Regions from separate parts of the Homo sapiens genome. Here all the other regions are linked to region 1. The links are contacts of gene promoters, found by promoter capture Hi-C in blood cells and fetal thymus (Javierre and others, 2016). All regions are on one chromosome and are shown on one strand. The core of a region is centred on a gene start or on the middle of the fragment in contact, and the rest is flanking DNA. Distances in the headings are between cores, read along the strand shown. Region 1 holds the start of TASOR2 (transcription activation suppressor family member 2). Region 2 has its middle 13 kb from the start of AKR1E2. Region 3 overlaps AKR1E2 (aldo-keto reductase family 1 member E2).

Evidence for each region. Contacts are between HindIII fragments. The CHiCAGO score rates a contact against its expected background, and 5 or more counts as called.
Region 2: a fragment that was not itself captured here is called in contact with the fragment with the promoter of TASOR2 in region 1 in 4 of 17 cell types (M1 macrophages, monocytes, M0 macrophages and 1 more); the score reaches 7.3 in M1 macrophages.
Region 3: a fragment that was not itself captured here is called in contact with the fragment with the promoter of TASOR2 in region 1 in 1 of 17 cell types (erythroblasts); the score reaches 6.0 in erythroblasts.

What each region holds. Positions count from the first base shown.
Region 1 is chr10:5,682,410-5,687,055 of GRCh38, forward strand. It overlaps TASOR2 (transcription activation suppressor family member 2), which reads left to right and starts at 2,429. Exons shown (of 22, transcript NM_001321783.2): 1 at 2,429-2,766. RefSeq lists enhancers at 1,983-2,222, 2,363-2,472, 3,093-3,272 and silencers at 2,523-2,782, 2,823-2,872. The HindIII fragment of the contact is 4,285 bases long and covers 503-4,646 here.
Region 2 is chr10:4,810,599-4,815,244 of GRCh38, forward strand. No RefSeq gene overlaps it. Among named protein-coding and RNA genes, the nearest start is that of AKR1E2, 13 kb to the right of the region's middle. The HindIII fragment of the contact is 3,258 bases long and covers 726-3,983 here.
Region 3 is chr10:4,832,966-4,836,280 of GRCh38, forward strand. AKR1E2 (aldo-keto reductase family 1 member E2) reads left to right here. Exons shown (of 10, transcript NM_001040177.3): 3 at 385-501; 4 at 2,710-2,844. Among named protein-coding and RNA genes, the nearest start is that of AKR1E2, 8.4 kb to the left of the region's middle. The HindIII fragment of the contact is 4,627 bases long and covers 1-3,315 here.

The DNA of each region.
Region 1 (4,646 bases), core at 1,179-3,678:
TGTCCATCAATAATACAATGGGTAAAGCAAATGTGTTACATTCACGCCTACATATACAGCAATGAAAACGAAAGAACAAGTACACCCAAAAACACAGTGAGTCTCACAAGCAGGCACAAAATTATTCACTTTATATACAGTTCAAACCACAAGCAAACTAAATGATAAAGTTTCAGGGTGCATATTTAGTTGGCAAACTTACTTTTAAAAGCAAAGAAGAGAGTACCATGGAAGTCAGAATAGTGCTTAGGCTAGGGAAGAGGGATGGGGTACTGGCAATGTTCTATTTCTTGATGGGGGTGTTGGTTTCATGAATATTTGCCTTGTGATAAATCATGGAGTTGTACATTCCGGTTTTGTGCACTATTAAAATGTTGTTGTACTTCACTCTCTACTTCCACAGTCAGCCTTCTTCTGTTCTTGAATAGGTTTCATTTCACTTCTCAAGTCCTTTGCACTTGCTTTCCCTTCTGCCTGGAAAGCTCTTCCTCCACGTATTCCAAGCTTTGGTTCTATCAGTTTTGATCTTTAGGGTTTGACCTCAGATGTGCCCATTTCAGTAAGATCTTGTAGCTCCACTACTTCTGCCCTTGGCCTCCAGCCCCCAGTCCCATCCACTAGCATTTCCAGTGAGTTTTCACAGCATGTATTGTTATCTGAGATTCTATTTTCTTGTCGTGGTGATTTACCTGTGTTTGTCACTCACCTCTGGAATAAATTCCATTATAGGCAGGGTCCTTATCTAGCTTGTTCATGATTGTAAAACCAGTGTCTATTACAGCACCTGGTTACAGTAAACAGTAAACACAATGACTGAATCTCTTGGTATTACCAGCACAGTGCTTGACTCATGATACATGTTCATTAGCACTTAATCTCTCTCATTGGTACAGTCATATGTCACTTAATGTTTCAGTTAACAACAGACCACATATCCAACAGTGATCTTATATGATTATAATAGAGCTGAAGAGTTCTATTGCCTAGTGATGTCGTAGCCATCTTAATTTCGTACAGCAACACATTACTCATATGTTTGTGGTGATGCTGGTGTAAATGAATCTACTGCACTGCCAGTCATATAAAAGTACAGCACACATGGCCAGGCGCAGTGGCTCCACCGTAATCCCAGCCCCCCAGTGGGACAAAATGGAGGTGAAGACAATGATGTTGATGATCCTGACCCTGTGTAGGCCCAGGTTAATGTGTGTTTGTGTCTTAGTTTTTAACAAAAAAGTTTAAAAAGTAAATTAAAAAAATTTTTAAATAGAAAAAAACTTACAGATTAAGGATATAAAGAAAATATTTGTGTACAATGTGTTTGTTTTAAGCTAAGTGTTATTACAAAAGAGTCTTAAAAAGTTTTTTAAAAGTTTTAAAAAGTTAAAAAGTTACAGTAAGCTAAGGTTAATTATGAAAAAATTTAAAAAAATAAATTCAGTGTAGCTTAGGTGTACAGTGTTTATAAAGTCTACAAGAGTGTACAGTAATGTCCCAGACCTTCACATTCTCATTGCTCACTCACAGACTCACCCAGAGCAACTCCCAGTACTGCAAGGTCCATTCGTGAGAATGCCTTACACAGGTGTACCATTATTTTTCATACTGTATTTTTATTGTACCTTTTCTATGTCTAGATATGCTTATACAAATACTTACCATTGTGTTATAATTGTCCACAGTATTCAGTACAATAACATATAGCATGGGTTTGTAGCCAGGAGTAATGGGCTATGGCTTATGGTGTAAGTATGTAGTAGGTTATGCTTCTAGGTTTCTGTGATGTTCACTCAAGGACCAAATTGCCTAATGAGGCATCTCTCTCATAAGGTGTCCCTACAGTTAAATGATGTTTGCATGACTATTTATCATGGGCAAGGGTAAACCTGAATTTATTGATGGTCACCTTAGCTCTCTGTGCATGTGTTATAAATTTCTAGAGATGCTTTCCTAGGGGGTAACAGCCACACCTACTATATGGATTAAAACAAGGGCAAAATTTCCAAAATGTCGCATTCGGGCCAGACAAATAAACTGTTCTTGCAGCAGCACCTGGGGAATGAAACGCTGAGAAGGGAGAAGGCGCCCGAAGGCGACCACGTGGGCCACAGCCACAGCACTGTAGGTCAGCCGAGAGAGCGTCTCCCGCCTCTTCCCAAGGGCATCTTCCGCCTCCTGTCAAGGGTCGGCAACGCGAGACACCACGCGCTCGTTGGGATCGGCCGCCTAATCAGGAGCGAGCTGTGGCCTTACGCCTGCGCAGAGGGGAGACGCGAGCGCCGCGTGGACGCTGACCTCGGTCCGCGCCTGCGCCTTGGTTTCTTCCCGGCGATTGGTTCCCATCTCTGAGGGAGACGCCTCACTTCAGTTTTCACTTTCTTTTTTTGCCCCCCCCTCCCCTTTTCTTTTCCTTTGGCCGCGAGGTTTTGCTTCCGGTTGCTAGCGCCGGTCAGAGAGAAAGTCGGCATGTTCTCGCAGGCTGCCGGGCGTCCCGGGGTTGCCTCTTGCCCGTGACCCTGACGGGAGACAGAGCGCGGGCGGCCGCGGCGTCCCTGTCAGCGCCCGCGGCGAGGACCCCGGGGCTGGGGCGGACGGCGTGCCCCTGAGGGGGGTCCCCGCGGGAGCGCGGAGCCGGCGACTGGTGCTTCCCACGTGCGCCGGTGTCGCGAGGGCCCGGGAGGACGCAGAGCACGGCCGGGAGAAGCATGGGAAGGAGGCCGAGCCGGGATCTCAGGTCCTCGGGGGCGGCGGCCACGCCAAGGACGGGTAAGTCCCTCCTCGGCCTGGGCGCCCGGGAACCCTGCGAGGAGGACGGCGGGTCCCCGAGGCCGAGCGCTCGGGCAGCTGCCGGGGCTTGGCTGCGAGGGTCGACGCGTTCTCCTTGCCTTTTGCCGCGCTCCGGGTGAGGGGGTGGGAGGGGTCGGCGCCTTCTAGATGACTCAACCTTCTGTCCTGCGCTACAACCTGTGGCCGCGCTCGGTGTCGCCGGCAGGGAGATCCTAACCGTGTCATCTTGCCCCTTTCTGAGGCGTTTCGTTTGCGTCGCCTGTCAGGGGACAGCTGCGTCCTCAGGGATATGCTGATAAGTTCTTGGCTGAAGTTTCCGTCTTCGGGTTTGCACCGGCTGGGAAATCATTTCCTGCGGGTTCTGCGTGAAGCCTGCTGCTACTCGAGACTTCATGGCAATGCGCCACCTTTTCTTTTTAGGGTAAAACAGGTCTCTCCGAAGGGAGGGTCATTTCAGCAGCAAGCGCAAGCCGCGTTGGGATAACTTGGTGCGAGCAACACAGAAGTTTGTCTGAAGGCGGCGCCAAGCAGCGTTTCGTGGGAGAACTGGGTTGATGACTGAAATTTTGAGGAAGATTACTTTGGGAATTCTCAAGTTTCTCTTAGTCGCTTCTTGTCTATTTGAAATCTGTAACTTTAAACAAACCACGCTTACTCTTCCTTATTCTCCCTGTAAGGTACAATTAGAATAGAAAAGTTTATGAAAGTGTATCCAAAACTTAAATATGTGGCGTACAAGTGTATGGTATTATTGGAATGGCATTCGCGATCCTAGAGTCTACAGTGTTCCCTGAATAAAACTAGGGGTGAGCCTGGCGGTAATCCTGCCTAGGAGGTTTATAGCAAAGCAGTGTCCCCTAACGGTGCAAGAATACCCTTCTGTCGAAAAACTGCCTTATAGGAATGGGTGACTGTATGCGGTATGTCCTGTACTGTACATCAATAAATAACTAAGCCAGGCCAGAAAAAGGGTGACAAAAGGTCCACAATTATGTTAAGGAAGACCAAGACGGTATATTTGAAGTTTTGTGTATACAGAACATTTGCCCAAATGTAACTAATTTTTTTAAAGGGAGATTATAAGCATCTCCTGTGGTCCAAACATAGTTGTTAAAATGGGTTAAAATCGGTGAAGTGCCTAAGAACTTGACTGAGACATGGTGTTTGTTAAATACAGTATACTATCTATTCAGTAAAAATAGATCAATATGGCATGTATTTATCAAGTGAATTTCATTTTTCTGTTGGTAGACATTCAAGTTATTTTCAAGATATCCCTATAACTGACAATACTGCAGTGATTATCTCTTGCTGTTATAAACAGTGCTTCAGGTGGTCATGATAGTATTTCTGTAGAATTGACTCCTTATGAGAGTGCTGGATAACCATGTTGCTAAATTGCCCTGAAATGATTGTACCTTTTTATGTTCACTCGCTCAAAAGATGTGTTTTTATCTCCATGCTAGCCAGCACTGGATGATAATGGTATTTTTAAAATATCTTAGCCACCTAGTAATTGAAAGTAACATTCTGTTTTAATTTTTATCTTCCTTGGTGAATACAAAAGTTAAATCTTTTTAGGCAGGTCATATCATTTGCTGATGTTTTTATTGAGTCTGAGCTCTCTTTTCTTTCGCCCATGTAACTATTACTGTAGCATTTTAATTATCATAGTTTTATAATATATTTTGGTACTTTCTTTTGAAAAAGAGCTTTGGGTTTTTCTTTTGCATTTTTTCTTCCAGAAGAAATTAAAACTATCTTTTTAAGTCCTATAGAAAATCTTGGGATATTGTTTGTGATGGTGTTGAATATATAATCTGAGAAGAGACATTTATTTGAGTTTTTCCTTCTAAGAG
Region 2 (4,646 bases), core at 1,105-3,604, 870 kb before region 1:
ACTTGGCAACAAGAGCTCCCAATATCTGGAGTCCCCAAGATTAATTCATCATCAGGGCCCACATCATCAAGGCGCTACTGCTGCCTTTTTCAATGTGGCCATGTTCAGATGTTATGCTGATTTGGGGGCTCGATCCACTCGAGCTTTCGTGGTGTGTGTGTGTGTGTGTGTGTGTGTGTGTGTGTGTTTGAGAGAAGGCATAGGAAGTTGGAAGGAAGAGAAAGAGGGAAGGAGGGAGGAAGAGTAATAGAGAGAAATAGAAACAGAGAGTGCTGTGTGCATGTGTGTGACATGTGACAGTGTGAGAGTACCTGTGTTTGGAAAGAGCAAAACCAGACACATCACTGTCCACCAAATGCAAGGAAATTGTTTCTTCCCCAGCTTTGAGAACCTGAAAAAATTTTCTAGGAATCCTTCGGCAGCCTCTTGTCCCAGCATAAATGATTCACAGCCTAAAAAGAAAAGACTCCCCTTAGCTTATGAGTTCCTAAGTAGAAAAAGTCCTATTTGGGCTTAGGAGCCATTCCCCCCTCTAAATGATTCAATCCAATAGGGAAGGGGACCACAGGACAGGCTTACGCTCATCAGGACTGTCCTGATTCACGAAGAAAGGGGTGGCCAGGTTCTGCCAGTGTGGATGGAGGAGCAATGCTTGTTGAGTGGACGACCAGTAATGCCTGCCAAACTCCTTCCACTGGGTTCTCCTTTCCTAGTTCTGCAGTACAAGCTTCATGGTCTCAGCTTCTGCCCATCCATCAGTGTCCTTGTTAATGGAGGTGTTCAGGACCCTCTCCCATCACTTCTTCCTCCCCACTCTCCACTCACAACTTTGGGCCTGTCCACCGCCTGAATGCGCTTGACCTGGACATCCATTTATCTAGGAGAGCTATCTCACTTGTGTTCAAATTGGTATTCTCTCCAATAGATAAGACAGAAAATCTGAACTAATCACACACACTTATACACACACAAATGCACTCACACTCAGACACACACATTCATACACAGACATGCACAGAAATACAGACACACACATACACACACACACCAACACATGCACAGACACACAGACACCCTCAGACACACAGAGACACACACAAACACACACAAACTCATGGACACACACACAATGACACAGATGCACAGACTCATTCCAAATCTTTCCTCTTGCCTTGCACTTTTATGATTAGTGAATTAAATCATAACCCACACCATTACCCAAGCCAGGAACCAGTGAATATTCCTGGCTGTTACTCCTCTCTTGAGCCCCACAGTTGCTGCAAGGAGTTGTGTCCTGCTGATGGCTCCCCTTCCACATGTCTCACCACCTTCTCCTCTCCTGCACACTCTGAGATTGTTTAGTGCAGGCCTGTACAATTGCACACAGGTGCTGCCTGTCACCCCAACAGCAGGCTTGTTCTCTCCATCTGCACCCAGAGAGAGGCTTTGCAGCTGGGGGTGCGAATGTGGCAGAATTTCCATCCTTTCCAACACACATTCATTTTATGGCCCAGAATGTGTTCTCTTCTCTCTTGGTGAATGTCCCAAATGCCTGTGAGCAGAATGTGTATTTGCTTCAATTGGGTGTGGTCACTAATGTCCCGGGCAGGGTAGAGTTGTCCAGCTCTTCTGTCTTTCCACAGATTGTCTAGGCACTGATTCTATCCATTACTGTGTTGAAATCTCTAGCTAGAATTGCAGACTTATTTCCCCTTTTCAGTTCTATCAGCTTTTGATTCCTGTATTTTGAAACTCCAATATGAAGCCCACACTCATTTAGGATTAATATGGAAGCCAGCCTTTAAATAAGAATTTTATCTTAAAATTAATATCACTCTGTCATCTTAAGAAGATGTGAGGCCTGTGAGAGCAGGTACTGTGTATTTTGTGTCTGTATTCTTTCTGTTTCACACTGCAACCATAATCGATGATGAATAAATAATGTTCCCTCTTGAAGATCTGGTCCCTGTCTCCAGGGCAGTGCTATGTAAAAAAAAAAGAGCAAATTCCTGCCTTCTAAACACTCCTCCACACCAACAAACACACTGTGCTAGGAAAGCAGCAGTGATGAAGGTGCTGGGCCTCCGGTGGAAAGGTAACACACATTTCCCATCCTCGGGAGCTTGCAGCACCGGCAGGCGGGCCGTTACACAGATAACACAGTATGCTTCTATGCCAGGGTGGACCCAGGAGTCCGTCCTCCCTGTCACTTACGAGACTGGAGTCCTGGAAAAGTTACTGAACTTCTCTGTGCCTTGGTTTATCCATCATGAAAGTCGGGTTAAAAAGAATACCCCACCCCTAGGGTGGAAGTGGGACTTGCTTGAATTGAAACAGTTGGTTTTTAAGTATTTTGCATAGCTGTTATTATTAAATTAACATCAAAAAAGTTGCCTGGTTATTTTAATATGGTCTTCACATAGGCAGTACAGCCGGCCAGATTTAGCATTTGCATTTATAACTGAGTCTCTCTTCTGCCTCCGTGAGACTTCCCAGGAGTTGCTTTGATGCTGCAGGGAGTCACACATCTCCAGATGCATCACTGGTGACTCAGCAAGCACCTGACCTGGTCCGTTACACATGGGGCTTATGTGCTTAACTCCTATGCGATGATGATTCTTCTCTAGTTCTTGGGGGTCGTTCCCTTTCTCCTACTGTACTGGCTGTTTAAAGTCAGCACTGTATGAGTTGCATACATAAGCCAAATGTCATTGACTTCTTCTTTTTTTTTTTTTTTTTGACAGTCTTACTCTGTTGCCCAGGCTGGAGTGCAGTGGTGTCATCTCGGTTCATTGTAACCTCTGCCTCCTGGGTTCAAGCAATTCTCGTGCTTCAGTCTCCAGAGTAGCTGGGATTACAGGCATGAGCCAACGTGCCCAGCTAATTTTTTTTTTTTTGTATTTTTAGTAGAGACAGGATTTTGCCACGTTGGCCAGGCTGGTCTCAAACTCCTGGTCTCAAGTGATCAACCCACCTTGGCCTCTCAAAGTGCTGGCATTACAGGCATGAGCCCTTGAGCCCAGCATAGATGTCATTGAAATTCAAGGGGGAAATCATTTGGAATGATCACAGCGACTGGTCCAGAGATGACTAACAGCTTAAAATGACCCCACCTGAAACAGCGGCGATCAGTGGAATGTCCAAGTATATATATATATATTTTTTTAATGAAGCTCTTTTGGACCAGAAACCCTAAGAATGTTTAGTCTGGAGTTCCATAATTATAAAAAAAATCTTCTGAAGTTAATCACCGTTTTTATCTGAAACCATACTCTAACTCAGTAACTCTTTCTCAGGGTTTACTTTCTCTTGAGCCACAAGCATCCATTTGTCCCCTACCAAAGGGACTAGACTTTCATGATGGATAAAAGGACACTAGTGCCAGGTAGCTTCTGCTTCTAAATTTTGGTTTAAAAAATGAAACATCTCCTTTTAGATATTCTAAAAAGTCATCTCCCCTAAAATCATGAAGCCTGGTTTATAAACTTTATAGAAGAAACTAGGTCTTTGAGGCTAACACATATTAGTGTATTAAAAAATACGGTAAACCAGCCGGGCACAGTGGCTCACGCCTGAAATCCCAGCACTTTGGGAGGCCAAGGCAGGTGGATCACTTGAGGTCAGGAGTTTGAGACAAGGCTGACCAACATGGTGAAACCCCGTCTCTACTAAAAATACAAAAATTAGCCAGGCTTGGTGGCATGCTCCTGTAATCCCAGCTACTCGGGAGGCTGAGGCACGAGAAAGGCTTAAACCGGGAGGCAGAGGTTGCAGTGAGCAGAGCTCCCATCACTACACTCCAGGTTGGTCAACAGAGCAGGACTCTGTCTCAGGAAAAAAAAAAAAAAAAAAGGTAAACAAACATTGCCTTAAACAAAAATTGTATCTTATAAGATTTTACAAGTTGCACATTATCAACACATTCTAGTTAAATGCTTAAAAATTACTTCACAATTAACCCTATGGATTTTTAAAAGAAGGAAAGCTTAGACACAAACTCAGGAGCCAGATTGTTTTCCAACCCTTGGGCCTGCCACTTACTAAGTGTACCAGCCTCCCTCGGAGTCACTCTATTCCTCGTGGAATCTGAATAGTAAGTGTACACTTGACAGAACATACGGAGTGGTAATGTGAAACAAAAATATAGAATATTTAAAGGACTTACCTAACAGTAAGAAAAAAAATAAGTTCACTTAAAAGTGTTTTTATTTTCTTATTTGCAAAACACCCCTTATTGTGGTAAGGTCTAACAATATACTATACATGTAAAAGTTTTACAGAAAATTACTGTAGCTTTCGATAATTTAATATATAACTGAAATACTTGAGATGGCATAATTCGATTTTATGTCAGTAATATCGAGTGAGACTAATCAAGATAGCAAGATTATGTTGCAAAATTAAAATGAGGAAATTGAGAGGATTTCTCAGGCTTCTGTGAGTCACTGCCTGGGCTGTATTAATAGTTTCATTGTGCTAGGTGCAGTGGCTCATGCCTGTAATCCCAGCACTTTGGGAGGCCAAGGCGGGCGAATCACCTGAGGTCAGGAGTTCAAGACCAGCCTGGCCAACGTGGTGAAACCCCGTTTCTACTAAAAATACAAAAATTAGCTGGGCATGGTGGCAGGCGCCTGTAATCCCAGCTA
Region 3 (3,315 bases), core at 1-2,500, 850 kb before region 1:
CGGAGTCTGTGTAAGTGAGAAACACAAGATAGAGATTCTTCTGATTTTTCGTCATATCTTTTCTGCCTGCAGGAATTTCATTTTCGTTTTTGTTTTTGGTCCCAATGAATCCAAATAACCATCAAATATCTCTTGGATTCCTGAGCTTCCCTTGAGGAGGAGTCAGGCAGAAGGATCCCAGCTTTGGAGCCTCTCCCTGCAGGTGTCCTGGAACTCTTCTGAGGATAATGTCCCTGTCCTCCCATCAGAACTTGCCGTGTTGTATTTGTGGTCATCTCATCTTGGCTATTTTGGGTTCAAGACAGTAGCTTTGTGGGGCTACAGAATGGGTGCCATGCTGGCTCTGGGTGGGCACGTGTGACGCTGGTCCCCTCTCCTTTGTAGCTGTGGTGCACCTGCCATAAGAAGTCCTTGGTGGAAACAGCATGCAGAAAGAGTCTCAAGGCCTTGAAGCTGAACTATTTGGACCTCTACCTCATACACTGGCCCATGGGTTTCAAGGTACCGTTCAGTAGGTAGTTCGTTCTGCAGTTTGCAGGACCTTCCTCCCCGTGCTCACACCCTGTCTTGCGGTGGGGAGAGCATGGACCAGCATTCAGGGCAGGGGTTCCCAGGCTGCATCTGCCACATGCTAGCTGCGGCATTTGGGCAGTCCTCTTGATATCTCTGGGCCTCAGTTAAGGAGAGGCTTGGCTTGACCTCTGAGGCCCCCACAGGTCTGTCTTTCAAGCCAGTCGCTTTTTTTCCAAGCCAAGAGAGCAGTAGATTTTTTTCCCTTAGGTTTTTAGGTGAAAGCAGTGATCAGATGAGGAAATACTGCTGCTCAGAGAAAGTTCCCAGTGAATTCCTAGGCCTTGTCTCTTCTTGCAGGTTCTGTTCTCTTTGGGGAGTAAATGCTGTTTTGCAATATGGGAGATATTTGCTTGTTCACCTGCAGCAGGGTCCAGTGGGTTGTGCTGGTAGTTGACTTTTCCACTTGGTTTTATTCTCTTAATTGCTTCACAGTGTGTCTGGAGCATGCATCTGAGCCATGGCTCTGTCACTAAGCTACCCCAGTCTGGCCGTGCAACTTCCCTACTCTAGGCAACCTGCTTCTGCCTCACACGGGTCCTGGCCAGGATGTCCCTGCATATTTGCCCTGGGCTGTGATGACAGCCTGCCTGGGCAAGGGCCTGATCACACAGTTGACACCTGTGAAATACAGAAGCCCTTGCAGGGATGTTCTTCCTACAATGGAATGGGTGACTGCTGCTCAGCAGTCTTCTACATACCAACCTGTGAGAAGGTCCCTTTATGTGTGCCACACTGTTGGTTACTGTTTTAGAGTAAAATAACAAAAAACACTTCATTCCTAGCACAGCTTTACTTAACTAAGGCTTTGTATCTAGTTTCCATAAACGATGTGGGCAGCTGTCCGTTAGTGACACTGACTAAGAGGGGAAGATACCCAGAGGGCAAAACCAGAGTGATGTCTGTGCCTTGAAATTCATTGCATGCAGAAAATCATAATTAAAACAATGGCTACAGCTGTATTACACTCATTGCCAGCCAGCATTGTTGTAATTATGTACCCAGAACTATGTTAGGTACTTTACACATATTAACTCATTTAATTCTCATGACAGTTCTACAAAGTTGACACTATTAACATCCCTCTTGGAGAGATGATGAAACTAAGATACAGAAAGTTTAAGGTTTAAGTTAGATTATTGGAGCCCAGAAGCATATGCTCAGGTCAGACATTTGTTACACTTTCCTTGCCCTCATCCTTTAGCAGATTCCTGTCTTTGGATTTCTGGGTCGTAGAAAAGGAAAAGGTCTCAGATCATCCAACAAATTACAGAAGAGAATAATGCAGCATCGTCAGCATGTCTTCTGGCCAGTAGGAACTGCTAGGCCTTGTGTGATGCTGGACAATTAGATCAGGGTCCGAGTATGAGTCCCGGGCTGCAATTTTGTGGAGGCTTGGATAAATGGCAACATGGGATGTGGCTTTAAAGTGAGACTGTTAGTTACTTCAGCTCATCATGGAAAATGCCTCTTTCATGTGTATCAGGCTGGAACATGTGACATTCTTCCACTGTTGTTTAGGAGTGTGATTAGGTGTCATTAAATAAACATGCCTATGCCATTCACCCTTAACATGCTACGTGGGAGTACATGAGGGAGGTAGCTGGATTGCACGTCAGTGCTTCTCTGAAAGATGACTTTAGGTTCTTGCCCTTTCAAGATGTATCTCTCTGCCCTCTACCTCCTGTGTACCTTTGTATTCTCACTTCCTTACCTGTCATCATGATGGGGATTCTAAGAAAGAAGACAAGACCCTAACAGTGGAGTTAGGAGAGGGTTGATTGGGCTCTATAAGACATGAAGAAAATGCACTCCTCACCCATTCTTTACCCGAAATTAGTAAACTATTTTCTGGAGGCAATGGGAGAGGACAACCTTGCATCAGTAAGGATACAGGGTCTTCCTTTCCCATCTTGTGAGAGATGAACAGTGAACATCAGGCTGGCAGAGGCTTTGCCAGCCATCCAGTCCACCAGCCATTCATCTTTTCTTAGAAAGGTGAAGACTGGGCCTGGTCACATGGCCAGGCTGGGGTTGCTTAGTGACAGGGCTGTGGCTTGGATGCAGGTCTCCTGACACATGGTTTTTTTTGTTTTGTTTTGTTTTGTTTTCACACATCTCAACTCTCCTTCTTCGCAGCCTCCTCATCCAGAATGGATCATGAGCTGCAGTGAACTTTCCTTCTGCCTCTCACATCCTCGAGTGCAGGACTTGCCTCTGGACGAGAGCAACATGGTTATTCCCAGTGACACGGACTTCCTGGACACGTGGGAGGTGAGCTGAGCCACACCACCAGGCAGCCTCATCCTGTGTGGGTCTCCACCCAGGATGCAGTGAGCCCTGAGCTGCTTGTGTTCAAAGACATCAAGGTTGTCTACCTGAGATGTGGGGTTTGTGGAGCAAAAAAGGAATCAATACCCGAAGAACTCAGAGACCTCAGTGACTTTCTTGTTACCTTTGGTTTGGTATGGTGCAGTTCTCTTGACACATTTGAGGGGTAGCTCATTATAGACCTCACTTTTTTTCTCAAATATTTATTTATTTTTTTATTAAAAACCATATTTATTTCAGAAAATACAGGAGAGTTCTTCTGCATTAAACTAACATTAAAAATTTTATTTTCCTGGCACCCAGCAGTAACCACTGTTAATGTTTTATAGTTCCTTTTTCTCTCAAGCATTTCAGAATGATAAAGTTGGCAGCATGGAAGCTCAGGCTGGGGAGGTGAGACCAGTGTCGGGGAAG